5 separate regions of the Homo sapiens genome follow, and regions 1, 2, 3 and 5 are each linked to region 4. The links are contacts of gene promoters, found by promoter capture Hi-C in blood cells and fetal thymus (Javierre and others, 2016). All regions are on one chromosome and are shown on one strand. The core of a region is centred on a gene start or on the middle of the fragment in contact, and the rest is flanking DNA. Distances in the headings are between cores, read along the strand shown.

The links. The method cuts DNA at HindIII sites, captures the fragments that hold promoters and counts their contacts. A CHiCAGO score of 5 or more calls a contact.
Region 1: a contact is called between the fragment with the promoter of CNBD2 here and the fragment with the promoter of TGIF2 in region 4, in 5 of 17 cell types (fetal thymus, total CD4 T cells, monocytes and 2 more). The highest score is 6.6, in fetal thymus.
Region 2: the fragment with the promoter of RPN2 here is called in contact with the fragment with the promoter of TGIF2 in region 4 in 2 of 17 cell types (monocytes and non-activated CD4 T cells); the score reaches 7.6 in monocytes.
Region 3: a contact is called between the fragment with the promoter of PHF20 here and the fragment with the promoter of TGIF2 in region 4, in 2 of 17 cell types (M2 macrophages and non-activated CD4 T cells). The highest score is 5.9, in M2 macrophages.
Region 5: a contact is called between the fragment with the promoter of NNAT here and the fragment with the promoter of TGIF2 in region 4, in 1 of 17 cell types (neutrophils). The highest score is 5.8, in neutrophils.

What each region holds. Positions count from the first base shown.
Region 1 is chr20:35,964,610-35,970,397 of GRCh38, reverse strand. CNBD2 (cyclic nucleotide binding domain containing 2) reads right to left here and starts at 1,808. Exons shown (of 12, transcript NM_001365709.1): 1 at 1,585-1,808. The coding sequence starts at 1,635. It also overlaps the pseudogene LOC124904982. The HindIII fragment of the contact is 7,355 bases long and covers 1,278-5,788 here.
Region 2 is chr20:37,174,609-37,180,606 of GRCh38, reverse strand. RPN2 (ribophorin II) reads right to left here and starts at 1,277. Exons shown (of 17, transcript NM_002951.5): 1 at 1,238-1,277. The coding sequence starts at 1,250. It overlaps MROH8 (maestro heat like repeat family member 8), which reads left to right and starts at 1,059. Exons shown (of 25, transcript NM_152503.8): 1 at 1,059-1,218; 2 at 1,220-1,384. The coding sequence starts at 1,127. RefSeq lists a silencer at 1,002-1,051 and enhancers at 602-1,159, 1,172-1,221, 1,572-1,651, 1,160-1,719. The HindIII fragment of the contact is 7,782 bases long and covers 1-5,663 here.
Region 3 is chr20:35,769,976-35,775,378 of GRCh38, reverse strand. It overlaps PHF20 (PHD finger protein 20), which reads right to left and starts at 3,364. Exons shown (of 18, transcript NM_016436.5): 1 at 3,300-3,364. RefSeq lists silencers at 1,618-1,912, 2,917-3,296. The HindIII fragment of the contact is 4,645 bases long and covers 1-3,659 here.
Region 4 is chr20:36,569,780-36,575,294 of GRCh38, reverse strand. It overlaps TGIF2 (TGFB induced factor homeobox 2), which reads right to left and starts at 1,698. Exons shown (of 3, transcript NM_021809.7): 1 at 1,550-1,698. TGIF2-RAB5IF (TGIF2-RAB5IF readthrough) reads right to left here and starts at 780. Exons shown (of 5, transcript NM_001199535.2): 1 at 660-780. DLGAP4-AS1 (DLGAP4 antisense RNA 1) reads left to right here and starts at 2,020. Exons shown (of 5, transcript NR_109939.1): 1 at 2,020-2,383; 2 at 3,752-3,854. RefSeq lists silencers at 1,342-1,511, 1,582-1,671, 1,702-2,021 and enhancers at 2,522-2,581, 3,200-3,752. The HindIII fragment of the contact is 13,842 bases long and covers 1-3,570 here.
Region 5 is chr20:37,518,089-37,523,505 of GRCh38, reverse strand. It overlaps NNAT (neuronatin), which reads right to left and starts at 2,256. Exons shown (of 3, transcript NM_005386.4): 1 at 2,103-2,256; 2 at 1,068-1,148; 3 at 1-839. The coding sequence starts at 2,174. The coding sequence ends at 747. It overlaps BLCAP (BLCAP apoptosis inducing factor), which reads left to right. Exons shown (of 2, transcript NM_006698.4): 2 at 4,156-5,417. The coding sequence starts at 4,332. The coding sequence ends at 4,595. RefSeq lists enhancers at 3,184-4,047, 4,048-4,911. The HindIII fragment of the contact is 15,256 bases long and covers 1-2,697 here.

The DNA of each region.
Region 1 (5,788 bases), core at 559-3,058, 610 kb after region 4:
CAAACAAAGGAAAAAAGAGAATGTTCTTTTTAAAGTGTATCATAAACAAAGTGAGACAACGAACTACAGACTGGAAAAATATACTTACTATGCATATAATCAACAAAGGATTACGATCCAAAATTTATTTTTTGTAATCCTACAAATCAAAAGAAAAATACAAATAACCCAATAGCAAAATGAGCAAAGGTAATTCAAAGGGAAAGTTCAAATTACCTATAAATTGTGAAAATATTGTTTTTATTCATTTGTATTTATATTTACATTGTTTGTAAAGAGGGGGTTTCACTTTGTTGCCCAGGCTGGTTTCCAACTCTGGCTTCAAGTGATCCTTCCACCTCAGCCTCCCAAAGTGCTGGGATTACAGGCATGAGCCTTCATGCCCCAGCCAAATTGTGAAACCATTTTTAACATTGCTAGAAATAATGGAAATGGAAATTAAAGTAATAACATGATACTATTTTGCACTTATCACTGGGAACTGGGAAACATGGTACAACCATGTTGAAGAGCAATTTGGCAACATTATATAAAGTTGAGGATGTGTGTACTTCACAATGGAAGAATTGTATGTACTTTATATGTCCTCTTCAGAGAAACATACATGTACAAGGGGATAGCCATGAGGGTAATCATGGCAACATTGTGTGTAACAGTGAATGGCTGAAAACAAATGTTCATTAGTAGGGATCGAAGGGATCAATACATTATGGTTCAGTCACAGGATTGAACACAGCACTAAGTCTGTGTGTGTCAATGTGGATAAAGCTGAAATGATTTTGAGTGGGAAAAAAGAACTATGATGCTATTTATGGTATCATTTTTAAACAGTGTGCCACATACTATATATTGTTTATGGATACATACACATGTGATAATATATAAAAATATAAACAGGAAGGGTGACACCAACTTCAGGAAAGTGGTTACTATTAAAGAGAAATAAAGGGGCATGGGATGGTAAAGAGCTTTCCCTACACCTGTAATGTTCTATTTCTTAAAAATTAGATATCTATGGAAATATGGGGAAAGGTACTTTATGAATAAAATTAATACTTACTGAGTACAATTTACTATTGTCAGGCATTATCCAAAGCACTATTCTGATATGTAAATCATTTAATCAGTAAATTTATGCAGTAGGTACTAGTATTATCATCTCACTTTACAGAGGAGAAAATAAAGGCACAGCAAACCAAGCAACTTGCCTGGGGTCACATGACTAATAGGTGATAGGGATTTAAACCTAGGTAGTCTGGCTCCAGAGTTCACAAGCTTAACCTATGACTCAATGTTGCTACCCTGACTCTATCCTCCCTCGTTCTCTCTGGATCTCATAATAGCAGGAAGAGTGGGTACAGAACAGGACTCAGTGGCTCTGAGTGTGGCTTATGGCTTGCCCAGTGTGGGGGGCTGGTAGGCTACAGGGCAGGGGTCCCTCCTTTGTGCCATGCTGTGACTCCAAAAGGTACAGGATGGCCACCATTCATCCAAGACCCCTCCTACACCTGCATCGACCTTCCTCAAAACACCTGTCTGTTCAGTCTTCTGCTCTTCCCTCCCAGGGCCCTTGCCCCTCCTCACCAGTTCCTTCTTCAGGAGCTGCCAGGCATAAGTTACCATATGTCTCCTCATGGTTCCTGTGCAGGCAAATGGCACAACTAGCCCCTTTGCCTTTCAAGGGGAGGACTACAAATTTTTCCCCAAAAATCCAGTAATACTAGAAACAAATAGATTTCCTCAGTAACAAGGCAAGAGCTCCACTCCACTCCTCCTACCATACCATCAGCTACTGGAAGCCCTGCTCTGAGAAAAATCATTCTCAGAATCTCCTAAGGTCACAATGAAAGATTCTGGAGGCAGGGGACACAGGGATTGGAATGTGGGAGTCTAACATTTATGGGATACTCACAGGCATTATCTCAGCTAATCCTCACAACCACCCAAACTTTTACTCAACTCCATACATAGGAGACTGGGGCTCAAAGTAGCTAAATGGCTGCCAGAGTCCTGGTGAGACAGGAGAATGGCACAACCCTGCTGACCAAAACAGGATCTAGGACCCCCTAGCTGTCCCCATCCCTCATTAACATAAGACACTCCTACCAGTGCCATGACAGTGTACAAATGTCTTGGCAATGACCAGGAAGTTGCTACCTCTTTCCTAGAAAACTCTAAAAACCCACTCCTTAATTTGCATTAACCTGCCCCTTAATTTGCATTAGCCTGCCCCTTAATTTGCATGTGATTGAAAGTGGGTAGGAATGCGTATACTACACTTGATCTCAGCCAAAAGGCTGAGAAGGGATTAGAGATGAGCATAAATACAGTTGCCAACATCTCATACACTGGGTATCGACTCCGGATTCATTGCCCATGAGTTAGCCCTGCCCCACAAGGAGAAGCACTATTCAATAAAAGATTGCTGTCTAACACCACTGGCTCACCCTTGAATTCCTTCCTTGGGCAAAGCCAAGAACTCTCCTAAGCTAAGTCTCAATTTGGGGGCTCACCTGTCCTGCAAAGATAGGGCTTTTTTGTTTTTTGAGACACTGTCTCACTTTGTTCCCAGGATGGAGTGCAGTGGCCCAATCTCAGCTCACTGCAACCTCTGCCTCCCAAATTCAAGTGATTCTCCTGCCTCAGCCGCCCAAGTAGCTAGGATTACAGGCGTGTGCCACCATGCCCGGCTGATTTTTGTATTTTTAGTAAAGACAGGCTTTCACCACGTTGCCCAGGCTGGTCTCAAGCTCCTGACCTCAAGTGATCCACCCACCTCAGCCTCCCAAAGTGCCGGGATTACAGGCATAAACCACCACTCCTGGCCAGGGCCTTTTTTTTTTTTTTTTTTTTAAGAAAGCAGTGTAGCTAAATGTCAGGTACACTTGCTCTCCATTTGTAGCATCCAATTAACAGAAGCAAGGTCTGGTCCAGCCTGGCCAATGTGGTGAAACCCCATCCCTACTAAAAATACAAAAAAATTAGCCGGGTGAGGTGGTGGGCACCTATAATCCCAGCTACTCGGGAGGCTGAGGTGGGAGGATCACTTGAACCCGGGAGGCAGAGGTTGCAGTCAGCCAAGATTGTGCCACTGCACTCCAGCCTGAACGACAGAGCAAGACTCTGTCTCAAAAAAAAAAAAAAAAAAAAAAAAAAAAGCGGGAGGGGGAATTGGCATAAATGGCATGCAGAGGAGGGAATGAGCAGGTGGGAGTCTCCATGACTCACTTTGGTGCCTTATCTACCGCCTGGTCGAGCTGCCACCATCTTGGGCAGAACTAGGTTGTAAAGTGGCCTTGTCTCGAGATACTCTCCAGGTGGGGCAGAGTTTCCTGGCAGGCATACTTTTGGTTGTAAATTGACTATTGTCTCTCAAGGCAATCTGGTGGGAGAGGTTTCTACTCTGGAGCTTTTAAGTAAGCACACAGATACACTTGCTCTAGGAGTGTCTGGTGAAGGGAAAGCAAAAGGTTATAACTGCATTTCTAATCAGCTAAGTAGGAAGTGGGGAACAGAAGAAAAACACAAAAGAGAAAGAAGAAAAAGATGATTTAAAAAGATAACTCATTCTCTATCTCATAGAAAAATGGGTGTACTTTGTTACAGCGGGAGGCTTCTAGGCTGGGAGTAGGTTCATCCAGCACCTTAGCCCAGGGACCACTCTGAGACTTAGAACTTGGAGGCCCTGGAACGTGGGTGCATAGTACTGTCCCATAAGTCTGGTTAAATCAGGACAATAAAAAAAAAACTCAGCAAAACAGAAGACCTCACCCAAATCAAGTGTCAAATATTGAATGGAACTTGGTGACTAGAACTCAAATCTCTGGAGTCCTTCTAAAGATATAGAAAAATATAGGCTCTAAAGTGCTTTTTTCTATTAAAGATGACAATTGAGTATCTCAATTTGCTCTTGCACCAGGATCCTCAGTAGAAAACTGTGATTTCAAGCATCACCTGCTCTGCCATTCCTATCCCGTGGGGTATATCTGTTAACTCTCCTCCAACTGATAGGTAGACAGAAGGACACTGAGTTCAGCAAAGATGGCTGGACAGCTGAGAAGAAAGACAAAGGCCACTCTTGGGGTGGGACAGTAATCACACACAGAGGTGAGAAGGGACAAAACTGGTTTTTCCCCCATACCATGAGAAAAGATGTAAAGAATTCAGAGAGAGAAAGAAGAGAAAGTTTTAGAAAGAGAGACAGAGAGATGAGGTATGGAGTTTTTGCCTCCCCCACTGCAAACCTAGTCTTAAGGAAGGAAATATAAGAGGATCCCCTTCAAAAGTGTAGGGGGCTTCTGAAAGAAACAACTGGGCCTGGAGAAAGCAAGAGAGATGGTAGGAGATGGCTATAGGCAGGAAGGGTGTCCCGTCAGTCCTCTGAACTGCCTGAGGATCCAAGAGTGACAAGGAAAGTATCCAGGCTCACAAGGGGCATCAGATGATGCCAGTACGACCTGATGAGACCCCAAAAATGTTTACTGCCAACCTCACCTCTTGCCAGCTGTGGTTGTACAATTTCTCTAGGAATTAGATCAGCTTTGGGGAAGAAGAAGCAGGAAGTTTGGAGAGCTATGAATGGGCCCAAGATGAATCAATAAGCCTGAAATTATATCCACTCAAAATTACTGGATTGGATCTCAATTTACCTGAAGACATCCTAAATTCAATTATCTGCAAGGAGGTGGGCTGGGGATTCAGAGTCACACATTTAAGTCAGTTCTAGAAACTAAGAAAGTTTCATTTCTCTTACAGTTCCTGATTTTATAACTGTAACTATTACAGGGTAGAATGCCAAAAAGAGCACTGGTCCTATTCCTATGTGATCTTAGGTAAGTCACTTAACTACTTGGGGCCTCATTTTCATAATGTATAAAATGGAGTTCGATTCAATTCCACAAACAATTTATGAGAAGATTCGGCCAAGCGCGGTGGCTCATGCCTGCAATCCCAACACTTTGGGAGGCTGATGCGGGTGGATCACCTGAGGTCAGGAGCTCAAGGCCAGCTCGTCCAACATGGTGAAACCCAGTATCTACTAAAAATACAAAAACTAGCCCAGTGTGGTGGCATGCACCTGTAATCCCAGCTACTCGGGAGGCTGAGGCGGGAGCATCATCTGAGCCTGGGAGGCGCAGGTTGCAGTGAGCCAAGATTGCACCACTCAAGCCTAGGTGACAGAATGAGACTCCGTCTCAAAAAAAAAAAAAAAAAGAGAGAGAGGGAGAGAGAAGATTCTTATTGTTTTGCTGATTATAAAAGCTATACAACAAATGCTTACAAAGCATATGAAGGTGAATAAGATGTGGTCCCTGCTTACCAGGAGTTCACAATATGGTGGGGAAGTAAAATCCTCAGAGAAAGTCTTGCTATAATAAAGCTATGAAAGATATATGAGGCCGGGCATGGTGGCTCACGTATGTAATCCCAGCACTTTGGGAGACCAAGGTGGACAGATCACGAGGTCAAGAGATTGAGATCATCCTGGCCAACATGATGAAACCCTGTCTCTACTAAAAATACAAAAATTAGCTGGGCTTTATAGCGGGAACCTGTAGTCCCAGCTACTTGGGAGGCTGAGGCAGGAGAATTGTTTGAACCTGGGAGGCAGAGGTTGCAGTGAGTCGAGATCATGGCACTGCACTCCAGCCTGGCAACAGAGTGAGACTCCGTCTCTTAAAAAAAAAAGATATATGAAGAGGTGGTTGGGTGCAGTGGCTCACGCCTATAATCCCAGCACTTTGGGAGGCTGAGGTGGGTGGATCACGAGGTCAGGAGATCGAGACCA
Region 2 (5,998 bases), core at 28-2,527, 610 kb before region 4:
CCCAATATATGAAGATCTAGTGAATGGCTGCGACTAGCATTTTCCCACCTAGACCGTAAATTCCCCTAAAACAGCACCTGTGTCAGAATCCTAATCTTCTCACTCCATGTTAACGAGAGCAGTAACTTTTCTGACTAAAAGTTGAGCACTTAATATGTTAGGTATGCCCACGCTATGCTGTGCTTTGCACACACCAAATCATTAAATCCTCACAACATCTAAGCAAGGTGGCTATTTTCTGCATTTCACAGACCAGGAAAGTAAGGCTCAGAAGTAGTTACCTGCCCTAGGACACATCACTGAAAATCAAACTTCAGGCAATTTGAATCCAAAGTCTGCTTTTAACCACTTTACTATCCTGAACTTCTCAAATAATGAAACGGTGAGCCACTGACTCATTCATGTGTCACCCTGGGCAAGTAAGTTCCCTTCCGTGGGATTCCAACTTCTCATCTGTCAAATGGTAGTAACAAGAGTACATGCTTCCAAAGTTACGATGAGGCTACATGAAATTCCACCCTGCACAGCGTCTACTCAGTAACTTCCAATGCAGTTAACTTAGTTCTTACCTAGGGCCATGCACTGTTCTAAACTAAGCACGAAGATTATTTCACTTAATAAAGCAACTCAACGAGGCAGATAACGTGACTAATTTGACTAACTTATTTTACAGATGAGAAACTGAGGTGTAGAGGGGTTAAGTAACCTGCTTTGGGTTACACAATGAATACGTGGCCGACTGCAAGTTTGCACCTAGAGTGTCACTTGAGAACTTATGCTCCAGGCTCCCAGAGAGAAGTGAGGGTTTTCTTTGCCCCTTTCACTGAATGGGAAACTACAGCACAAAGAAGGACAATCTGCCCAAAACCTCACACGGAGTAAGGGGCAGCGCCGGGACCAGAACCTTAGGCCGCCTGGCCCAGAAGCCCGCGCGAGTGAAATGAATGAGGCCAGACCTAGGCTAAGCGCGTCCGCGGTCCCCACGGCTGAGCCTCGGGGCGACCCGTAGCTCCGCGCTGCACCCCTCCCCCAGGCACCAACCCCGCCAGGTCGCGGGCACTCCCACCAGCTCGCAGCCCTCCTTCGGACCCTCGATCCGAGAGCGCCCCAGCCAGAGCTTGTGCCCATGCCCCTGTCCCGCAGGGGAAGGGGATCCCGCCTGGCCGGCTCTCGAGCGGCGACTAGTAACCTCCCGCGGGCGACAGCCCTCTCCCCAAAGCCACGCGCAACTCCTCACCCGGCGGCGCCATTCCTCCGAGCAGGTCCCGCCGGAGTCCGAGCCGCGGGCTGACTTCCGCTCGGGAAAGTGGCTCCAAGAGCCCGCCACAGGGGACGCCAGGGACTCGCGGCAGGCTCTGCGGGCCAGGATGAGTTCTAAGCACAGGTCAGTGTCCGCGGCCCCGCTGAGCTTCGACGCTTCCAGCAGCCGCGGCCGGGATCCCAGTCCTCCCGCTCACAGGGCCTTGCAGTTCCCGAGGACAGACCCGCCTCTCCCCCGCGCCCAGGCCCACTTGGAACCGACCGTCTCGCAACGCTCCTATTCCGGGAGCTACCGGGACGCGGTTGGGCCAGGCCTCGGGGTGGGCCCGAGACGGGGCCGCTTCTGATTGGCCTGTCTGCTGTCACTCACTCGTCTTTCTGCTGCCCGGCCCATTTTAAAGGAACAGGAAGGGTCTCGTCGGGAGGGGATAGCTTAGAAGGGATTTTTTTTTCCTCTTTAGAAAATTGTGGCAGTTTCTGGCCGGGCGCAGTGGCTCACGCCTGTAATCCCAGAACTTTGGGAGGCCGAGGCGGGCGGATTACCTGAGGTGAGGAGTTCGAGATCAGCCTGGGCAACACGGTGAAACCCCGTCTCTACTAAAAATACAAAATTAGCCGGGCGTGGTCACACATGCCTGTAATCCCAGCTACTCGGGAGCCTGAGGCAGGAGAATCGCTTGGACCTGGGAGGCGGAGGATGCGGTGAGCCAAGATCGCGCCATTGCACTCCAGCCTGGGCAACGAGTAAATCTCCGTCTCACCAAAAAAAAAAGAAAAAGAAAATTATGTCAGTTTTTTCCAAAGATTATCAGTGGGGTTGTTAATAACTGACCTACGAGTGACGTTTTATCTGATTTGCAGAGCAATGCAGTGACTCATAGAGAACATATTAGGCCAGTTTTACAGGCTCAACATGGAGGTGGCTCATCCAGGAACACCGCTCTAATAACTAGCGCCAACTACTGAATGTTTACAGTATAACCCGACACTGTGCCGAACGCTCTACAAGCATTATTTCTTTTCTTTCCTTTTTTATTGATACGGGATCTTGCTCTGTCGCCCAGGCTGGAGTGCAGTGGTGCGATCACAGCTTACTGCAGCCTCGACATCCTGGGCTCAAGCAATCTTCCCTCCCGCCTCAGCCTCCGGAGTAGCTGGGACTGCTGCCTTGCGACACCACGCCCAGCTAATCTTTAAAATTATTTTTGGTAGATACCGCGTCTCGCTTTGTTGCCCAGGCTGGTCTGGAACTCGGGCTCAAAGGATCCTTCGGCCTTAGCCTCCCAAAGTGCTGAGATTACAGGCTAATCCCATTTTAAAGAGAAGGAAACAGATTTGAACCTAGGCAGCTGACTCCAGAATCTGTGCTTTTAACTACAGTTTTATGAACATATAAAGTATGCACAATATAACTCTTATTAACGTTATTATTGTCCCAAATGTTATCCCGCATGGGAGAGAGTCAGTTCTTTCTGTGTCTGTTATGATAGCCACTAGCCTTATGTGGATATTTAAATTTGAATTTAAATGGATTAAAATTAAGTAAAATTTAAAATTCAGTCTCTCATTTGTACTAGCCACATTTCAAGTGCTCAGTAGCCACAGATAACTAGTGGATATCAGATTGGACCACTCAAAATTATAGGACATCTTCATTATTGCAGAAAGTTCCATTGGGCAGTGCTGATGTAGAATATATAAAGAATTCTCCCAGCTCAAGAATAAGACAACCAACCAGTGGTGTGCTGGAGCTGTCTCATACTATCTTGAGAGTCCATTGTTAAATTTGCAGTAATTTTGCAAATTGGTTAAATACAGCCATTTAGAAAATTATATCAATTTAGGATGAAATAAAGTATATTGAAAACAAAACTCATTATTTTCTAATTATTTCACTACATTTTACGTTTTGTGTGCTTTTGTGGTTGCTTATATCTGTTGTAACTGTGTGGTGGAAATATATGACAGTATGCCATTGAACATCTCTTCCCAAGGTAGTATTGGTAGCTTGATTTTGGCCATGATGGGAGTATTTACACCACAGACTTAGCATATGCAGCCAGGAATGGTGGCTCAGTCTGTAATCCCAGAGCTTTTGGGAGGCTGAGGTAGGAGGATCACTTGAGTCCAGGAATTCGAGACCCACCTGGGCAACACAGCAAGACCTGCCTCTACAAAAAAAAAATTTTGATTAGCCAGGTGTGGTGGCTCGCATCTGTGGTCCTAGTGACTAGCTGTGGACCACAGATGGGAGCCACCACACCTGACTAATGAAAAAGAAAAAGACCAACAATAGCAAATGTTGGCAAGGATGTGGAGCAACAGGATCTCTCATATCCTGCTGATGGAAATGTAAAGTGGTACGACCATTTTGGAAACAGATTGACAGCTTCTTCGTTGTTTGTTTGTTTGTTTTGAGACAAAGTCTCCCTCTGTCACCCAGGCTGGAGTGCAATGGCACAATCTCAGTTCACTGCAACTTCCATCTCCTGGGTTCAAGCGATTCTCGTGTCTCAGCCTCCCGAGTAGCTGGGATTACAGGCGCGCGCCACACTGCCTGGCTGAATTTTTTTGTATTTTTAGTAGAGACGGGGTTTCACCATGTTGGCCAGGCTGGTCTCAAACTCCTGACCTCAAGTGATCCACTCACCTCAGCCTCCCAAAGTGCTGGGATTACAGGCGTGAGCCACTGGCGGTGGTTGTTTTTTACGAGGCAAGGTCTCCATCTGTCGCTCAGGCTGGAATACAGTGATGGAATCATAGCTCACTGCCGCCTTCACCTCCTGGACTCTAGGACCCTCTTGCCTTGGCTTCCTGAGTAACTGGGACTACAGGCACATGCCACCACCCCCAGCTAATTTTTTGTAGAGATCGGATTTTGCTATGTTACCCAGGCTTGTCTCAAACTCTTGGTATCAGGCAATCCTTTCGCCTTAGCCTCCCAAAGGCAATGGGAATACAGGCGTGAGACACAACACGTGGCCAGGCAGCATCTTAAGAAGTCAGTTACACAATCTACCACACAACCCAACCATTCTGCTCCTAGAGGGTTTCTTTGTTTTTAATGAACTCATTTTTTATTAAAGAAATATATGCATACAGGACAGAGTTCAAACTTTATTGGTTTGGGGTGTCCTTCCAAAATTGTTTTATTGGCTGGGCGCCGTGGCTCATGCCTGTGATCCCCACACTTCGGGAGGCCAAAGTGGGCAGATCACCTGAGGTCAGGAGTTTGAGACCAGCCTGGCCAACATGACGAAACCCTGTCTCTACTAAAAATATAAAAATTAGCCGGGCGTGGTGGCAGGCACCTGTAATCCCAGCTACTCAGAAGGCTGAGGCATGAGAATCACGTGAACCCAGGAGGCAGAGAGGTTGCAGTGAGCTGAGATTGCACCACTGCACTTCAGCCTGAGCGACAAAGTGAGACTCTGTGTCAAAAAAAATAAAAATTAAAAATAATAAATAATTTTAAAAAATGAATTCCGTAAGTTGTGTTTTTGTTTCTTCTAGAGACAAGTTCTCTCTGTCAGTCAAGCTGGAGTGCAGTGGTGCCATCATAGCTTAAACTCTGCAGTCTTAAACTCCTGGGCTTAAGGGATCATCTTGCCTCAGCCTCCTGAGTAGCTAGGACTACAGGCACATGCCACCACACCTAGCTAATTTTTTACTTTTTTTTTCTTTTTTTTGAGATGGAGTCTCGCTCTGTCGCCTGGGCTGGAGTACAGTGGTGCAACCTCGGCTTACTGCAAGCTCCACCTCCCGGGTTCACGCCATTCTCCTGCCTCAGCCTCCCGAGTAGCTGGGACTACAGGCGCCCGCCACCGTGCCCGGCTAATTTTTTTGTTTTTTTTTTTTTTAGTAGAGATGGGGTTTCACCCTGTTAGCCAGGATGGTCTCAATCTCCTGAACTCATGATCCGCCCTCCTCAGCCTCCCAAAGTGCTGGGATTACAGGTATGAGCCACCGCTCCTGGCCAATTTTTTACTTTTTTGTAGAGATGAGGTCTCACCGTGTTGCCCAGGCTAGTCTCGAAGTCCTGAGCTCAAGCAGTCCTCCCACTTCAACCTCCCAAAATGCTGAGATTACAGAGTGAGCCACCATACCCAGCCTCCATAAGTTTTTTTTCATGTATGCCAACATTTGTGTGTGTGTGTTTCTGTGTGTATACACATATACTTATACTTTTGTGAAAATAGTTTTGTTTTAATGAAAAATGTCATATCCATTGTTTGACAGCTTGCTTTTTCTTTCATGAATCTATGCTAAACATTCAGTAAATAGAGACCTGCTCAATCATTTACTCTGCCAATAATTGTTGAGCACTTCTGTATGTCACTGTTCTAGACTCCTGGGATACATTCATGAACAAAGCAGCCAAAGATTCTTGCCCTCATGAAGCTTACATTTTAGCAGGAGGAAATAAATGACAATGAACATCATAAACAAGTGAAAGATATATTGGAAGGTGTTACGTGCTATGGTAAAAAGAAAAAGTAGGAAAGGGTAAGGAAGATAGAGGGAGTTTGGTGAGGTGTTCTACCTCAATCTGGTTTTTTTGATGGGTTTGTTTGTTTTTTGAGATGGAGTCTTGCTATGTCACCCAGGCTGGAGTGCAGTGGCACAATCTCGGCTCACTACAACCTCCACCTCCCAGTTGAAGTGATTCTCCTGCCTTAGTGTCCCGAGTAGCTGGGATTACAGGCATGTGCCACCATGCCCGGCTATTTTTTGTATT
Region 3 (5,403 bases), core at 2,115-4,614, 800 kb after region 4:
TGTGTCTGGATAAAGATAAAATAAAAAAATATAAGGCTAACCACCACCTTCCTATTTTCACAGAGAAACTTTGTCTTCGTGTATGAAACCTCACTACTAAAAGTGTAGTTCAGTAACATCAGCATCACCTGCAAATCAGAAATGCATTCAGGTCCCATCCTAGATCTACCAAATCAGAATCAGCATTTCAACAAGACCCCTGGGTGACTTACATGCACATTCAAGTTTGAGAAGCACTGGTGTAGAATACTTTAAGGGTGCACTGTACGGCAGTACACAGATAAAGTATCAAGCAGCCAAAGAAAGAGACAAAGTATCTGTTCACTTTCAGTATACTATATTTTATTAGGTACTGCTCAGACAGACCTCCAGTGATTTTTATAAATTTGGTACTTCCTAATGGCCACATCATCTAACTGTGGGATCTATTTCATTTCTGGAAATAACACAACTTAGTTCTAGGGCTTTCATGCACATGAAATATAAAACAGCTTAGTTGTTCTGAAAACATGACAATGGTTAATTTTATTCAAGTCCCAACACTGAGTTCAGAGCACTTCTCCATAGGCCCCATTAATCTCTCCAGGTTTCTGGGAGTATCATTAAATCCCTCGGCATCCTTAAGAAGCAGGTGCTTAGCAAACATCCAGTTTCCAAATGAGAGTCAGAGGGGCTTGATCCTGAAAGTGTAGTATTTTCCTGCCTTGTCCTACTGGTATAGCTTCTTGGACCTAAAATCTCTCTCCTGCTGAGGCCTCATGCAGCTGCACACTCAAGTACTTCCCAAAAGGAAGAAAGGTCAGAGGTATCATTATCCCCAAGCACTTGGAATTCCAGCTGTGGAGAAATTAATCTGGTTGGGGGTTCAGGCTGAGAAGCCCTGAATAAGATCTGTAAAGGCAGAAGGAAACACAAAAGAAAGAACTATTGAGGCTCTTAAGAGATAGGAGGTCCCAGATATTTGCAGATTTTAATGTGAGGATTGGGGGTAAAGATTGACAAGAGGTTGGCCGGGCTTGGTGGCTCACGCCTGTAATCCCAGCACTTTGGGAGGCGGAGGCGGGTGGATCACGAGGTCAGGAGATCGAGACCACAGTGAAACCCCGTCTCTACTAAAAACAAAAAAATTAGACGGGCGCGGTGTGGTGGGTGCCTGTAGTCCCAGCTGCTCGGGAGGCTGAGGCAGGAGAATGTCGTGAACCCGGGAGGCGGAGCTTGCACTGAGCCGAGATCGCGCCACTGCACTCCAGCCTGGGCGACAGAGCGAGACTCTGTCTCAAAAAAAAAAAAAGAAGATTGACAAGAGGATGATTGGGAGAGAAAAATATCCATTTCCCCACCGACACCCCAGGGACAAGAACAAAAAGAGTATCCAAGGGATTCCTCCAAACGACATCTTTTCTTCATAAAAGATAGTAAGAAAGCCAATATAGGGAAGAAGTTTATGGGCTAGAAGCAGTGCTGGAAAAATCTGAGAGTTTTGTTTGTTTTTGTTTTCCAGCACAAGGAGATAAAGCAAAGGAGAAAACAGTATGCACCTAAACAGAATCTTAGGTCTTCTAGAAGTAAACCACCAGGAGGATTCAGAGTCCTGTGATTAACCAAAGAAATGGTTTCCACTTTGAATCCAGCGCTGGGGGCCCAGGCAGTCCTAGACTTGAGGCCACCTCCAGCACAAGGAAAATCTTTATAGCCACTAGGTAAACAGAACAATTCCAAAGAAAGACAGAAACCAGAAAAATGTTTGGGGATTGGGCAAGCCAAGAGAGAAGAGATCCTGCTAGCGGAAAGATAAAAGATAGGCCTATCAAAAACAATGTGCTGGTAGCCCTTTAGGAGAGGAATCCTTCCCTGGGAGGAGAGGAGAATTCAGGAGGTGTGACTCTGGGAAGTGTGCTCAGAAGAAAAGCCCGCAGAAGCACAGAGAAAAGTGCCGTGCTGAACAAAGATACGCACTCGCCAGAGGAAGAGGAAATGGGTGCACTGACCAGACTGGGGAAAGCACCTCAAGGGGAGTGTGGCTCCAAAAAGGGAAGGAAACTGAGGAATGAAAATGTCTTGGATGACAGAAAAGCTAAACAGGGTAGGAAGGCATGCTCAAAACCACAGACCACTCGCCACCTGGAAATGAGAGGACTCACAAAAAGGTGTGCCCCCCAAATTTAAGAAGCATCTGGAAAGTGGCTGCACTCTGAGAGTTGTATAACTAAAAGGGGTTCACCTCGTACATTTGGGGGGCACAAGAAACAAATATACTCCCAGATATGAAAATGAGTCTCCTTCAGGAAATAAGGTAGTTTGATTTGGGGAACACGTGAAAAGTGTGTAACCCCAATAATACAGTCTCGGGAGAAGGCAGTGAATTCCCTTATTTGTGAAACTGGAAATAAGTACCCATAAACTTCAAAATTTGGACATTGTTTTCGGCCCAACCTCAGGTTTGAAGGGCTGAGGAAAGGAAGTGGCCCCTAAATGTAAGAAATTCCAGAAGGCATGCTGTCAGATTTGGGACCTGGAAAAGGGGAATTCTTCCTTGGAGTAGAGGGGATACAAGAAAGTATCCCAAAACTTTAGCTAATGGACCCCAGATCTGAGGACCCGATAACAGGGTGAACCTCTAAATTGGAACGGAAATGCAGAATCAAATTGGAGGCCCGAAAAAAGGAATGTGCTCCCACTTTGGGGGCTGACGGAAGAGGGTACGCCCTAAATTTGGGGGGGGGAGGGCTTTTAGAAATTTAGATAAAATTCCAGAGCTAGAGCTTAAGAAAGGGGGTGTGCCGCCCAGTTTTCAAAACTATAGAGAAAAGGGACACTCCCATATTTGGGGTCTTGAGAAAGGAATGTGCTCCCCAGAATAGGATAAAAAAAGCCAATTTTAAAAAACATATTCCCAAAGCGCAAGGCAATAGCAGAGGCTGCTGATGAGGCTCTAGGTGCCCACACAGCTCAGGCTCGGGCCCTAGGGCTTACCCGCACCCCCAACACGGCCCGCTCCGCGCCCCGGGCCCGCACCCCACGGCCCAGCCCCCTCGGGCGGCGCTGATTGGCGGCAGCCGCCGCCACTCTTGCGGGTAGCCCCGGGGATTGGGCACCGCTCGCACGCCCGCCACGCTCTCAGCAGCAGTCCCAGGGCCTCCCTCCAGGCTGGGCGAGCGGGGCCAGGCGGGGAGCGGGGCCGGGCAGGGGACCGAAGCAGCGGTGGCGTCCGTCGCCGTCCCCGCCCGCACGGCGCGCGCGCAGCGCGGGCCCGGCCCAACCCGGCCCGGCCGGCCGGCTTCGCCTGGCCGCGAGCTCACCTCACGGCCCCACTCCGGCTGCGCCGCTCCAGGACCAACCGACAGAAGGACTCTGCGTGCTCTGCACCACGTGACCCCCGGGACGCGCCCAGCGTATGCCCCGCCCCCCACACACACGCATCATCGCCACCACCGAGTGACGTAAGGTCCCAGCTGCCCCGCCCCCTGCCCCGTCTGCCCGATCACTGTGGCAACGGCCTGCGCAGGCCACGCCCACTACCCTGACGCGCGGGAAACAGGCCCGCGCCCTAGCAGGAACACGAAGTCCCCACTCACTCGTAATCACTGAGATCACCGAAGCCGGGGAATGGACGCTATCCATCACCCGTTAATTTTGCCACCTAAATGCGTCTCAAAGCTTCCCATTTCTCCATCGAAGCGACCACCATCTCTCTCCAAGATGAAGATGGTTTCCACCCTATTACTCTTCGCCGTTCTAATCCATTCTTCGTACACCGGCAGAGAGGTCTTTTCAAAACGCCATCCCCTGCTCAAAGCTCGTTTCCCTCCCTACTCCGGATTAAGATCTAACTCTTCACCTAGACTATCTACCAGGCTCTTCAAAGTCTGGACCTGACCTGCTGCTTTCTTATCCTCACGAATCCAGCTCCCCCACATTCTCAGTGTCCTTCAACTCCGCTAACAATCCAGGTTCTTCTCATCTCAGAGCCTTTGCACTCATTTCTCCCCCACTTTATCATTAACTCCTAGAAAGGTTTCCAATTGCTGCTAAGGATAAGGAGCTGTATTTTCTCTGGGGACGAAGGTCGGAGTTGAAGCCACCCCAAAAGAATATGAGACCAGGAGCAGTGGCTCACGCCTGTAATCCCAACACTATGAGAGGCTGAGGTGGGTAGATCACTTGAGCTCAGGAGTTCGAGACCAGCCTGGGCAACATAGCTAGACCCCCGTCTCTCCAAGAAATACAACAATTAGCCAGGCGTGAACGTGCGCACCTGTGGTCCCAGCTCAACCTTCTGAGTAGCTGGGACTGCAGGCCCATGCCACCATGCCTAGCTAATTTTTTTTTTTTTTTGAGACACGGTCTCACTGTGTCACCCAGGCTGGAGTGCAGTGGCGCAGTCTCGGCTCCTCATAACCTCCACCTCCTAGGCCCAAGCAATTCTCCCACCTCAGTCTCCCAGATAGCTGGAACCACAGGTGTGCACCTGGCTAATTTTTGCATTTTTTTGTAGAGACGCAGTTTCACGATGTTGCCCAGGCTGGTCTTGAATTCCTGGGCTCAAGCAGTCCACCCACCTCAGCCTCCCAGAGTGCTGGAATTAACACCGTACTTGGCCACTTTTTTTTTTTTTTTTTGAGATAGAGTCTCGCTCTGTAGCCCAGACGGGAGTGCAGTGGTGCGATCTTGGCTCACTGCAACCTCTGCCTCCCGGGTTCAAGCAATTCTTTGCCTCAGCCTCCCAAGTAGCTGGGATTACAGGCGCACGCCGCCACGCCCAGCTAATTTTTTATATTTTTTTTAGTAGAGACGGGTTTTCACCATCTTGGCCAGGCTGGTCTTGAACTCCTGACCTCATGATCCGCGCGCCTCGGCCTCCTAAAATACTGCGATTACAAGCGTGAGCCACCGTGCCCGGCCGAGTTTTTTTTTTTTTTTTTTTAGAGACAGGGTCTCACTTTGTTGACCAGGCTGGTCTCAAACTCCTTGGCTCAAGTGATCCTCCTGCCTCAGCCTCCAGAAATGCTGGAATTACAGGCCTCAGCCAGCAAATCCAGCCTGAGGGGTGCTTTTTAAACCAGGGCTGGAAACTAAGGAGGGTATTGCCTCAGTTGAGGTAGTCAGGGCAAAGAGCAGCCCTTAGGTAGAGACACTGTGGAACCAGGGACAAAAGCTTCAGCTACACTTGCTTGGGCAGTACATGTATTCTATTAAAATTGTAACATGGCTGGGCGCGGTGGCTCACGCATGTAATCCCAGCACTTTGGGAGGCCAAGACGGGCAGATTACCTGAGGTGAGGAGTTCGAGACCAGCCTGGCCAACATGGTGAAACCCTCTCTCTACTAAAAATGCAAAAATTAGCCAGGTGTGGTGGTGCATGCCTGTAGTCCCAGCTACTTGAGAGGCTGAGGCAGGAGAAT
Region 4 (5,515 bases), core at 449-2,948:
CCCACATATGCACCCCACACCGCACCCAGACACACTCACGCCAGGCAATTAACCAACAGCGCTAGGATAACTGGCCCGGACCCATCGCTCAAGCCTTACAAACCCTAGGGTTTTCACCGACGCATACAGCACGCACACGCACAGCTTACAGACCCCAGGCCTAGCACGAACAACTGTGACCCACACAACTAGCCCAACTTCTGTACCCGCCCACCCACGAACTCCAACCGACCCGGCCACCCCCGATCTCTCCGACAGGGAAAACTCCAGGCGTCATCACACTAACAATCAGTTCTACCCTCAGTGACCTGTGGCAGCAACCCCTCGACACAACATCCCGTACACCCTCCTACAGACTCCCACGACGCCACCTGCAGCCACTCCCGCACGAACTTTCTGACAACTCCCCTAGCTGGTCCCGACACTCCCCCGGGCCGCGCACTCACGCCCGCATTCCCAGCAGTTCAGACAAAGCGCGCAACCTCCCCCGCGGCCCAGACCGAGTCGGAGCACATGGCTCCTGGGTCGGCGAGGAATCGTCCGGCGCTCGGGGCGCTTGCACCCCACAGTCCCCACACCCCGGGCCGACTCCGCGCACCAGCTCCCGCGCGGGCCCGCCATCCCGGTGGGACGGGGGCTCTGGAAGAAAGAAAACTCACGTGTCTGTCCCGGGGCAGGAAAAAGTTTGGTTCCCACCCCTACTCCGGCAGTTCGGGGCTGGCCGACTCTTCGGGGCGCGGGGACGGCGGAGCGTGCGCGCTCGGCTTTGTGCTCCGAACTGGGCCCGGAGGGGGAGGGGAGGGGAAGGGAGGGGAGGGGGCTGGGCTCCCACCTCCGCGCCGCCCCCCCCCCCCCAGCCCTGCGCCCAGACTCCATGTTGGCCGCCCCCTGCCCCGGAGACTACGCGCTTCTCCCGCGGGAGGCTTGGATCACCTTCGGCCTGCCCGAGGGTCCCGGCGCGAACAAACTTTCTCCGGGGCGCCGGCCCCACGCGCCCCGCTTCCTTGGCCAGCCTGGGAGTGACAGATGCCTCGGAGACAGACTTTCCTTTGTTCCAAAGGAAAGGGGAACTCGCGCGGGCTCCCCAGGGCCCCCCCGCTCCGGGCCCTTCCCGCGGCCCCCACCCCCAGCTGTCACTCTCGGCCGCCCCCTGTCCGGCTCGGCGGCGGGGGGGCCCTGCTGGCGGTTAGCAACGTGCACTTTTGAAACCAAACAAATCCGTCCCCCCGCGCGCTCACTCAGGTCCGGTGCAGGATCGGCCCTCTCCTGGGGTGGGATCCTATGAAGCTGGGCCCCCCACCAGGGCCCCAAGCGGGCTTCCTCCCGGGGGCTGGAACAGTCCCCCACCGGCCCCCGGAGCGCAGCGCCGTCGGGACTCACAAACACCCCCCGGGGGCCGTCGGGACTCACAAACACCCCCGAGCTCACACACCCCCTACCGCACGCGCCAGGACGACGCCCCCTCCCCGTCCGGCCGAGAAAAAGAAACTTTCCAAGTTGTCCGCGCGCCCCCACCCCCATCTGGCCCTCTGCTGCTCCCTGCACTGACTTTTCCCAGCGGCTTTCGGGTCCACGCGGCCTCCGGCTCGGCGCGGGGCGTCCCGGCGGGGAGCGGGGGGCGCCGGGGGCGCGCGCCGCGTACCTGCCCGGCCTGACACTCGGCCTGACAGCTCGCGGCTGGAAAGCACCTCGCGGCCTGACGTCAGATCCCCTCTCCTCCCCCCGCGCCCTCTGCGCCCTCCCCCACCCGCCCGGAGGGAGAAAACAAACTTTGTGCGGAGCGCGACGAGCTGCGCCCACCCCCCGCGGGGCGGGCCGTCGGCGCCGAGGGGCTTCGCCCCGCCCAGCGCGCCCGGAGGGGGCGGGGCCGCGGGCACCTTCTTCCTGCGCCCACCCCGCCCTCAGGAATGCTGCATGGCCTACCCATAGCGGCGGTGGGAGCCTCCGCCGGGGAGAGCCCGCTCGGGGGCAGGAAGTGGCCCGGCCCTCCTCGTGGAGGGCGTTTCCGGAGCGCCTACTGTGCTCCTTGCCGGGGTGGGGGTCGTTACCGAGTGGGAACTTCTGCAAATCCTGACTTTTGTCACTTCGCGCCCCGCACAAGATGTCCTGCCGGCGGTGCGATTGGTCCCGTTGCTTCGAGGGGAAACTGAGGCCACTTAGTCCGGGCACTTACCCGCAGCTAGTTAAGGACTAGGCTCTGATGGAGACGCTTGTTACGACCTCAATGGCCTGTAGAATCTGGGAGGCCGCCTCCGACCTAAGCCCAAAAAGCACATGATCGGGCTCACAGGGGGCGGCCAGAGGTGAAAACAGCCAACGCTTTACAACGACGCTGTGCGGGGCACTTCGTGTGTGTCATCCCGTCTCATCCTCGGGTGATAGGGTATGTGTTGTCCTATGTAAGTCTCTGGCTTACTCATGAGCCGCAGAGAGGTTCTTGATTTGCTTTTGTCACACAGTCAACCGGTATCATTCAGCCCAGGTCGGTCGATAGTGAAGCCTGATCCCTTACCCCTTGTGCCCGGCCTTAAACGATCAGTCCAGGAGCTCCCGGAGTTCCTGTCTGGTTTCTTTTTCCTCTTCTGCCAGTTACACCCTACTCCAGAAGGTTTTCCTTGGCCTCCCCCACCCCAGTCAGTACATTCTTCCCTGCTCTCTGCTGTGGGTACCACATACTGTGATATTTCTGTTAACCAGCCTCTTAGGGCATCCCCCCACGCCCCCCAGCCCTGTACCCGGACACGGCTAGGTCCAGATATCTAGGGCCCTTGAGCTTGGAAATCGCTTTGAAAACAGCTTTTGGACTTAATTACCCTTTAGCAATGGAGAACTCTAGGAACAAAACTCTTAATTTTTTCCAAACAAGCCTTAAGCCAATCAGAATGCTGATTAAAGATTGTTAAGGTTTCACCTGGACACCCCATAGAAGCCAGACTTCCTGCAAATGTTAAAAACCTCCTCACGGCAGCGGGTGAAATGTCAGTGGCACTGCCTGTTGCTCTCCATTTCACAGACAGGGAAAATAAGGCCCAGAGTGTGGGTCAGAAACAATTTTTTTGGCCGGGGAAGTGGTGCTCCCCCCACGGCCCTGTGAAAGAAAAAGCCACGTCTGGGTTGCCTTAGGTAAGAAATGTAAAACCAATGGGCCTTGGCCTCTAGGAAATGTATGGGACAGGGACCTTCAGAAGAGGGGAGCCCCAGGGGGAAATGGGTGCGACCAGGTGAGCCTGGAGAGGGGGCTCTGGTAGTGGCTGCTGAGCTTGAACTCCGCACTAGGCGTTTTTCTCCTGTATGCGTAAGAGCCACATTCTGCCCTTTCTGGGGAAGCCACTGGGGGCCTGGGCTAGAGGAAGAGACCGCACCGTAAATTGTGCCTGCAGCAGCCCCTTAGACGAGTGTTTCCCAAGTCTGGTGCTAGATGTGGTTGGGAAAATGGAAGCGGGGGAGTGCTGCCTCCTCCTCCACCTGAGAGCTGCATAACAAAGACCTGGAGCCCCTCCTCTCTCCTGGAGGACGGGGTAGTGGTGGAGGGAGGCTGGTAGCCGGTCAGATTTTGCACGTAAGCAAGCTTCACAGATAAAGCCTAAGTGCAATTAGAGTTTGAGAATTACCGTGTCAAGTTTCTGAACTAGTAAGTATCAGAATTTAAAATGTGTAGATTCTCTAAGACAGTAATTCCACTTCTAGGAATCTGTCTTTTGAAGTAGCTGTACAACAAAGATAAATGCTTATAGAAGATTGTTCTTTGCAGAACTGTTCATTCGGGAAAATTGCAAACAACTAAATACCCCTCACCAGGAGCTGGCCCATTATAGCAACTCTGAGACCTCTCTACCGCAGGCTCTTAAAATGGGGTAAGTTGGTGCGCGCTAATGTAGGGGCATGACCAAGGTATATTTATTGACAGCTTACAGTGTCCCAACAAGGAGGGACTTTGGACATAGTTGGTGAGAACTTTAGTGGGAAAACTTTTTCCAAGTGATAAGTTATTGTCATTTTTCTCTCCCCTACTTTCTTTTTTCTTTTTTTTTTTTTTTTTGAGACAGAGTCTCGTTCTGTCGCCCAGGCTGGAGTGCAGTGATGCGATCTCAGCTCACTGCAACCTCCACCTCCCAGCTGCAAGCGATTCTCCTGCCTCAGCCTCCTGAGTAGCTGGGACTAAAGGCGCCCACGCCCACCACCGTGCCCAGCTAATTTTTGTGTTTTTAGTAGAGACTTGAGTTTTGCCATGTTGGCCAGGCTGATCTTGAACTCCTGACCTCAAGTGATCCACCGCCTCAACCTCCCAAAGTGTTAAGATTACAGGTGTGAGCCTAGCTTTCTCCTCCTCTTTCTAAATTAAAAAGAAATATTGTGATAAGAAGCTCCTCCTACCTTTTTTCCCCATGTTTGAAGAAACTGGGTTGCTAAGGGAAGAAAAGACTTGCCTAATAGGAGTTTGGGGTCCTGACCCCTGGAAGGGAGCTGGGGATAGACTAGGAGAGGAAGGAGAGGTGGAAAGGCATCCAAGCCCAGACCAGCCTGGCTGCCCAGGTCATCTAAGTCAGTTCCCTGCCTCCGTACCAGAAAAACCCAAACCGGAGGCTCTTGGATGTGAGGCTCCAGGTTCATCCTGCCAGTTTCTAGTGAACTTGGTGATCACATAGGTTTAAATGAATAAATCCACTTTTGTTAAAAAAAAAAAAAAGTGAGCCGCTTCCTTTTTTTTTTTGAGACAGAGTTTCGCTCTTGTTGCCCAGGCTAGAGTGCAGTGGCGAGATCTCGGCTCACTACAACCTCCGCCTGCCAGGTTCAAGTGATTCTCCTGCCTCAGCCTCCTGAGTATCTGGGATTACAGGCATGCACCACCACGCCCGGCTAATTTTGTATTTTCAGTAGAGACGGGGTTTCGCCATGTTGGCCAGGCTGGTTTTGAACTCCTGACCTCAGGTGATCTACCTGCCTTGGCCTCCCAAAGTACTGAGATTACAGGTGTGAGCCACCACACCTGGCCACCGCTCCCTTTTTGATGGAAGTGGGGAAAGGCACCAGCATTCACTGAGAATCCATATGAGCCAAGTTGCATCTCAGGATAAAGGAGAAGATGGGCTTCTGTGGGGTAGAGGGAAGAGTCCAACAAAGGCCAGGGAGGGTGAAAGTGTTCAGGAAACAACTGGATTGGTTGAGATGGAAGGGCTGTGAAGGCCAGGATGAAGAATTTGGATTTGGCAGTGTGGGCAGTAGAGAGCTCCAGCTGGTTCCTGCGGAGAGCTGGGGAGAGACTGGAGGGAGGATAGTTGGTGACTCAGCTCTGGATAATTGAGGCCGAGCGGATGGAGACCCGCCTCTGAGATCTAGGGAGATTTGTGGCTGTTATGTGAGGTTCTGCATTTTCATCTAATGTTGATAAGTGGAATTCCACATCTTCCTCCTGAAAAGTCTTGCAGTGTCTTGTTGGTCAACCACAATTTGCCTAGCTTTCTCCTAGTTGTTGGGTATTTACTCACGTAACTAATTTCTGAGTGCCCACCTGTGT
Region 5 (5,417 bases), core at 1,007-3,506, 950 kb before region 4:
TGCATGAGACCAGGGAAAAGCAAGATCAGTGAGGGGCAAGGGGGGTTCAGAGAAAGTGTTTTAGTAAAGGTGGGATTCATTTACTTTTACTGCTTGAATAGTTCCAAATCAAGTGACACATTATTTTGGAGTAGGGTGGGCTTGGGAGGCAGTGAGGAGGAAAGGGGAATCGAGAGAGCAAATGCAGCGAGGCTGGAATGCAAGTGCCCTGGGCAAGGGACAGCGAGAGGGCCCCACTGTATTTCTTAACCACCCTCCTTCCTCAACTGTGCCCTCCAGTCCCGCCACACAGGCACGCGGTTGGTGCTGCACCAAGATTCAGGGCGTCGGCTGGCGATGTCAGAATGTCCATTCTGCTGGCTGGTGCGGTGTTTTGATTTCCATGGTGGGGCCTGCTGGCATGGCCCTGGCTTCGGGGCTGGGATGGTGCTGTCCCGACTTTGTCCAGATCAGAATGCGGTGCCTATGCCCAGATCTCAGGGGTCTGCTCCCCCTATCCCCCCTCCTCTCTCGACCCTGCCCCTTAGTGGGACCGGTGCAAAGGGGTTGGGAAGGGATCTGGTATCTTCGTCATTGTCGGTACTGCTTCTCCGGGGGTCTACTGGCCCCTCACTGACCTTGCCAAGTGCTCCTCTGGCGAGGGAACACAGGGGACCCCACATTCCTGCGCGGCACTGGCTCCCGTGCTGGCCGAGATGCACAGGAGCACCTGATGATACGGCCGCCCAGGGCTGGGAGCTGGGGCCTCAGTTGGGGGCTCGCTGCCTGCGCTCCCCCAACACCTGCCGCCCGGTCCGCGACACCGTGTATGCCAGCTTCTGCAGGGAGTACCTGAACACCTGCGACGAGAAACCCAGGACCCACCCTTAGTGGAGAGCACCCACAGCATGTCTGTGGTGCTGCCGTGCCCACCCCCGCCCCACCCCCTGCCCCGCCCGCCCATCCAGCGTAGGCTGGAGAGGCGGGCGCGGGCGCAGCTTGTCCACGAGTCAGGGCAGCTGGAGCTTTTCCAACTGTGCTGAGAGCTGCATGGCGGCAAGCTGATTGGACCCACAACTTAGGTATACCTCACTTCTCGCAATGGGCTGTGTCCCTGGAGGATTTCGAAAAGCGAATCCTACCCAGTAAATGCAGCATTCCAGGAACACCTTGAAGGAAATATGCGATTCCTTTGGCAAAGGATTCCTTTAGCAGGGAATTCTTCCTGCAAAGGGAGCTTTTAGGGTAAATGATTTTATGGGCAAAGCGCTTTCTTCTGATTTATCTCTTTTTACACCAAGCGCTTTTGCCTCTTTTTTATTTTTTTTATTATTATTTTTTTTTTTGTAAAGCAATTGTCCTTTTTTGGAAGTGCTTTTTTTCCCCTTCTATTTTTCTCTCGAGGGGCTTTTTCCTCTAATTTTTTTCTTTAAAGCGTTTTTGCCCGATCCATTTTTTTCCGTTAGCTCCCTTGTCTAATTTTTTTCTGCAGTGCGTTTTTAATCTAATGCATTTTTTTCTGCCAAGTGCTTTTCTCCGATTTATTTTTCCTGCAATGCGCGTTTTTCTGTTTTCCTGTGAACTACTTTTTCTCTAATTCGTTGTAGGGTTTTTTTTTTTTGCGAAGTAATTTTTATTTTTTCTGAGAAGTGCCTTTTTCTAACTTATTTTTTGTTCCACCCCCGCAAGCGCTATATGTTTTTTTAAATAAAATTTCTCCGCAATGCGCAATTTTTTAAGGTGGAAAATTTTCACTCTGCGAGCTGTAAAGTCTTTCAACACAGTAGTGCCCCGCCTCCCTCCTGGGGTCGAGTCCGGGTGTAGCGGGTTTTTCTTACCGCGTAGGTCGCTAAATGCCTGGGTGATCGTCCGCAGCGGTCGCCCGCCGCGCCCCGAGTCTTTGTTCCCTGGCAGGCGCGGGCGCACTAGGGAGGGTCAGCGCGAGGAGGACGGCGCAGGGAATGGGCAGGGGGCGCGCGGTGCCGGCAGCGGCACTTGGGCAGGCAAGGATCGCGGCAATCGGAATAGGACGGGTCCGGGAAGCGGCAATCGCGACGCAGTCTTGCGGGTTCTAGGGGCGCGAGTTGGGAACCCTCTCCCACCCGAAACCCCGTCAGACTTACCTGCAGCAGCACGCGGAAGATGTACCAGCCGATGATGAGCAGTTCAGCCGAGGCCGCCGCCACTGCCGCCATGGTTCCAAGAATGGTAGGTGGGTGGTCGAGAAAGAGGGTTTGCCGAGATCCGCTGGTCTCGGAGTCCGCTGTTGGGCGCACTGCCGCAGCCGCGGTGGCCGCGCCTTAAGTACCCGCCCGCCACCTAAGTGCGCATGCGCGCCTTGGGGGGTGTTTATGAGGAGGGGTGGCTGGGGGCGCTCCTCATTCGCCAGGAGAGGAAAAAAATAATCCATCTGCTCTTTCCATACCGACCCCCGCCTCCTGAGTTCCATCTTAGCCCCCTTCCAGAAGATTCCGCCGTGCTTGCTTTTGGATTTTGCTTTAAAATGGAGGGGTACCACGACTCTGGGTAGAGTACAGGGCGAGAATGGGGGTGCAGGTCTCTTAGTGTGGCGCCCTTCTCCCCAGTCCCTGGCCTGCAAATTTGAGCTCAGTCTCCGGTGCCACTCCAAAGCCTACCTTGGGGATGGATGGAAAACCGAAATTAGGGAGGGGTCATCTGCCCCATAGAGCAAAAAACGTGGTGCCCCTTTCAGAAGCTTTGGCATAATAGGCCCGTGCTCGGCGCTCTTTTCCTGATACTGAATGAGTTTTAAGCCCAGGTCCTCTGCTTCATGAGGGTGCCTGAGCGCGTAACCCGTCTGATTCTTTACATCTCTCTTACGGTAGCGAGGAGATGAGAATCTGCGGTGGAGGTCGCTACTGTAGGGAGCTGAGCCAGAGCACTGCGCTTTGGGCGCAAAAGCAGTAGTCACCCGGTATCTGTAGGAGGGATACAGGAAGGATTGGCGCCCTTCGTATGCACGGAAGGAATGAGCTCTACGGAGAAGTGGTTGGAATATGCTTGGGGATAGTTTTCTGCTGGACAGGTCGTTTCGACCTCAGTCTTCCGCTCCCCTCCCCCAAGCCCTGGTAGGTCGGCCTTAGCCAGTGGGGTTCTTTGTACCCGTTGCGCTGTGCGGCTGGATCACCGAACGGGGTTACGCTACCGCTACCGGAGGGTTGTGGCTACCGCAGCCCCGTTTCCAAGTGAGGCGGGTCCCTTTTAGACCGCCAGTCTTGTGGGTCCCTCGCACAGCGCGGATTTTCGGGCGGGAAGACCGGAATGCGGTTTGTGAGTGTGGTCCCCGCGCACCGGTAGCCAGCCGAAAGCACCTCTTTCCAGCAAGCTGCCTGGCCCAGGGACCAACTGGCATTTGCCCCTATGTGGATAGAAAATTAATTTTCATTAAAAGCTCCCAGAGGTCAGGTTCTATACAGTGCCAGCAGCAGATGGAGGTGTAATGATCCAAACGAGTTCAGTTTGGACAAAGTAGCATAGTGACTTTTTTTCTACATTGACTTTCGGAGAAGTTGGCAGATTCTGGCAAAGTGACGCTGGGCTGTTTGAAAAAGGCAAGCTTAGCCTAGGCTGCCATCTTAAAATATTTCGAGGCTGTAGCTGCCTCAGGATCCTTTGCCTGTGGTCTGGTGGCCGGCAGTGCCCCGCTAACAGCTTTAACTCTGCACTTAGTGCCTGAGCACCTATGGCTGTGAGAGATGCTAGATACAGAACCCTGTCCTTACCACGTGGGGGCACAGCAGGGAGCCCTTGGTCGTCCTTTGGCAACCACTGGGCGGTATTGTGAGGTCTGGGCCCCTTGAGGACGGGCTGCAGCCCCAGGAGGCGATACATGATCTCTGCTGGGCAGGGCCCAGGCAAAGCCAGCCCACTGTGTGAAACCGTGCCAAAGAGCCCTCTCCCCGATCCCCCAGGAGAAGCCCCGGGGAGACATCCCAGGAAGCTTCCCGAATTAGTGACTTGGAGAGGAGTAGAACTTTCACGGGTGGGCAGGGAGGAAAGGGCATTTCACATTTGCTGTTGTTAACCATGATCCATTTTCCCAAATAAGTATACATTCTGTTCCTGTTTTTTTTTTTTTTTTCTTTTTTTTTTTTTTTTTTTGTCTGTCTGTCTGTTCTTTGTCTGTTTGTCTGTTGTGTTGACTTTTCTCTTCAGGATCCCTGCTGCCTTGGTGATCCCGGGCTGACAGCCAGAGAGCACAGCGGCTCAGCTCCTGGAGAGTGAGGGTTGAAGAAAGCGGAGGGCAGCCGCCTGCGCCCGCTGGCTCCCATTAGGTCGGTTCCTGCAGCGGTGCCCGGCAGCCTTGGTGAAGGCCCTGCCCGGCAGAGATCATGTATTGCCTCCAGTGGCTGCTGCCCGTCCTCCTCATCCCCAAGCCCCTCAACCCCGCCCTGTGGTTCAGCCACTCCATGTTCATGGGCTTCTACCTGCTCAGCTTCCTCCTGGAACGGAAGCCTTGCACAATTTGTGCCTTGGTTTTCCTGGCAGCCCTGTTCCTTATCTGCTATAGCTGCTGGGGAAACTGTTTCCTGTACCACTGCTCCGATTCCCCGCTTCCAGAATCGGCGCATGATCCCGGCGTTGTGGGCACCTAACGGCCTGCCCTGTTAGCTTTCCAAGGAAGCAGAAGACGGGAGGGGAGGCATTGACATAGGTCATAAAGCATTGGAGTTTCAAATCCCGCAGCCTCGCGGGTGTCACATTCCTGACGGCGCCTTTTTGGCCTGTGATGTTTTATCCTTACAATGTGAATAATGGCACTGACCGGTGCTTTTATTGTAAAGTCCTATAGTCGTGGGTGGTCTTGTGGTTGTGTGTGTTCTGTCCCCATCTAGGTCCTGGCTGGCCGCATGACCACCCCTCTCGCCTCATTACTGTGAGGAGTCTGGGTCCATCCTGGTCAGCTGCCCCAATGTGACCTGGGGCAGATAAAATGCCAGTCTCATTGTCACCTCTGTGACCCCTCCTTGTCAGGGTCTCCTTCCTTCCCAGAATGTTACTGACTCCTCAGTCCCTCTTCTGGTTTCCCTTTATTTCTCTTCTACCCTTTTCCTTTTTTGGGGAGTACCTGTCCAAGACAGGGCTCATTTTTGCACTTATCTCGAATTTGAAGAGATTGCTGACGCCCGAGAGCCTCGCTTTTTCATCCTTCTTTCCTTGTTCAGCAGGCTAGACAGAAACATGTCTTGACTGTTAGTTGTCCACAAATCTTCAGTATTTTCTCCACTTCATTTTTAAGAAAGGAAGCAACAGATAGATGTTGCTCTTTCACCTGGGTGTCTGGGCTCAAGCTTTCCCGCCCAGCCTCACTTCCTTTGCCCTTCCTCCTGCCTTTCTCAACTGTCCCAAGGAGGGGGCCTCATTGTGTCTCCCGTGCATGCTCTGCAGCATTGAAGTATGGTGTGTTCACGTAGTTC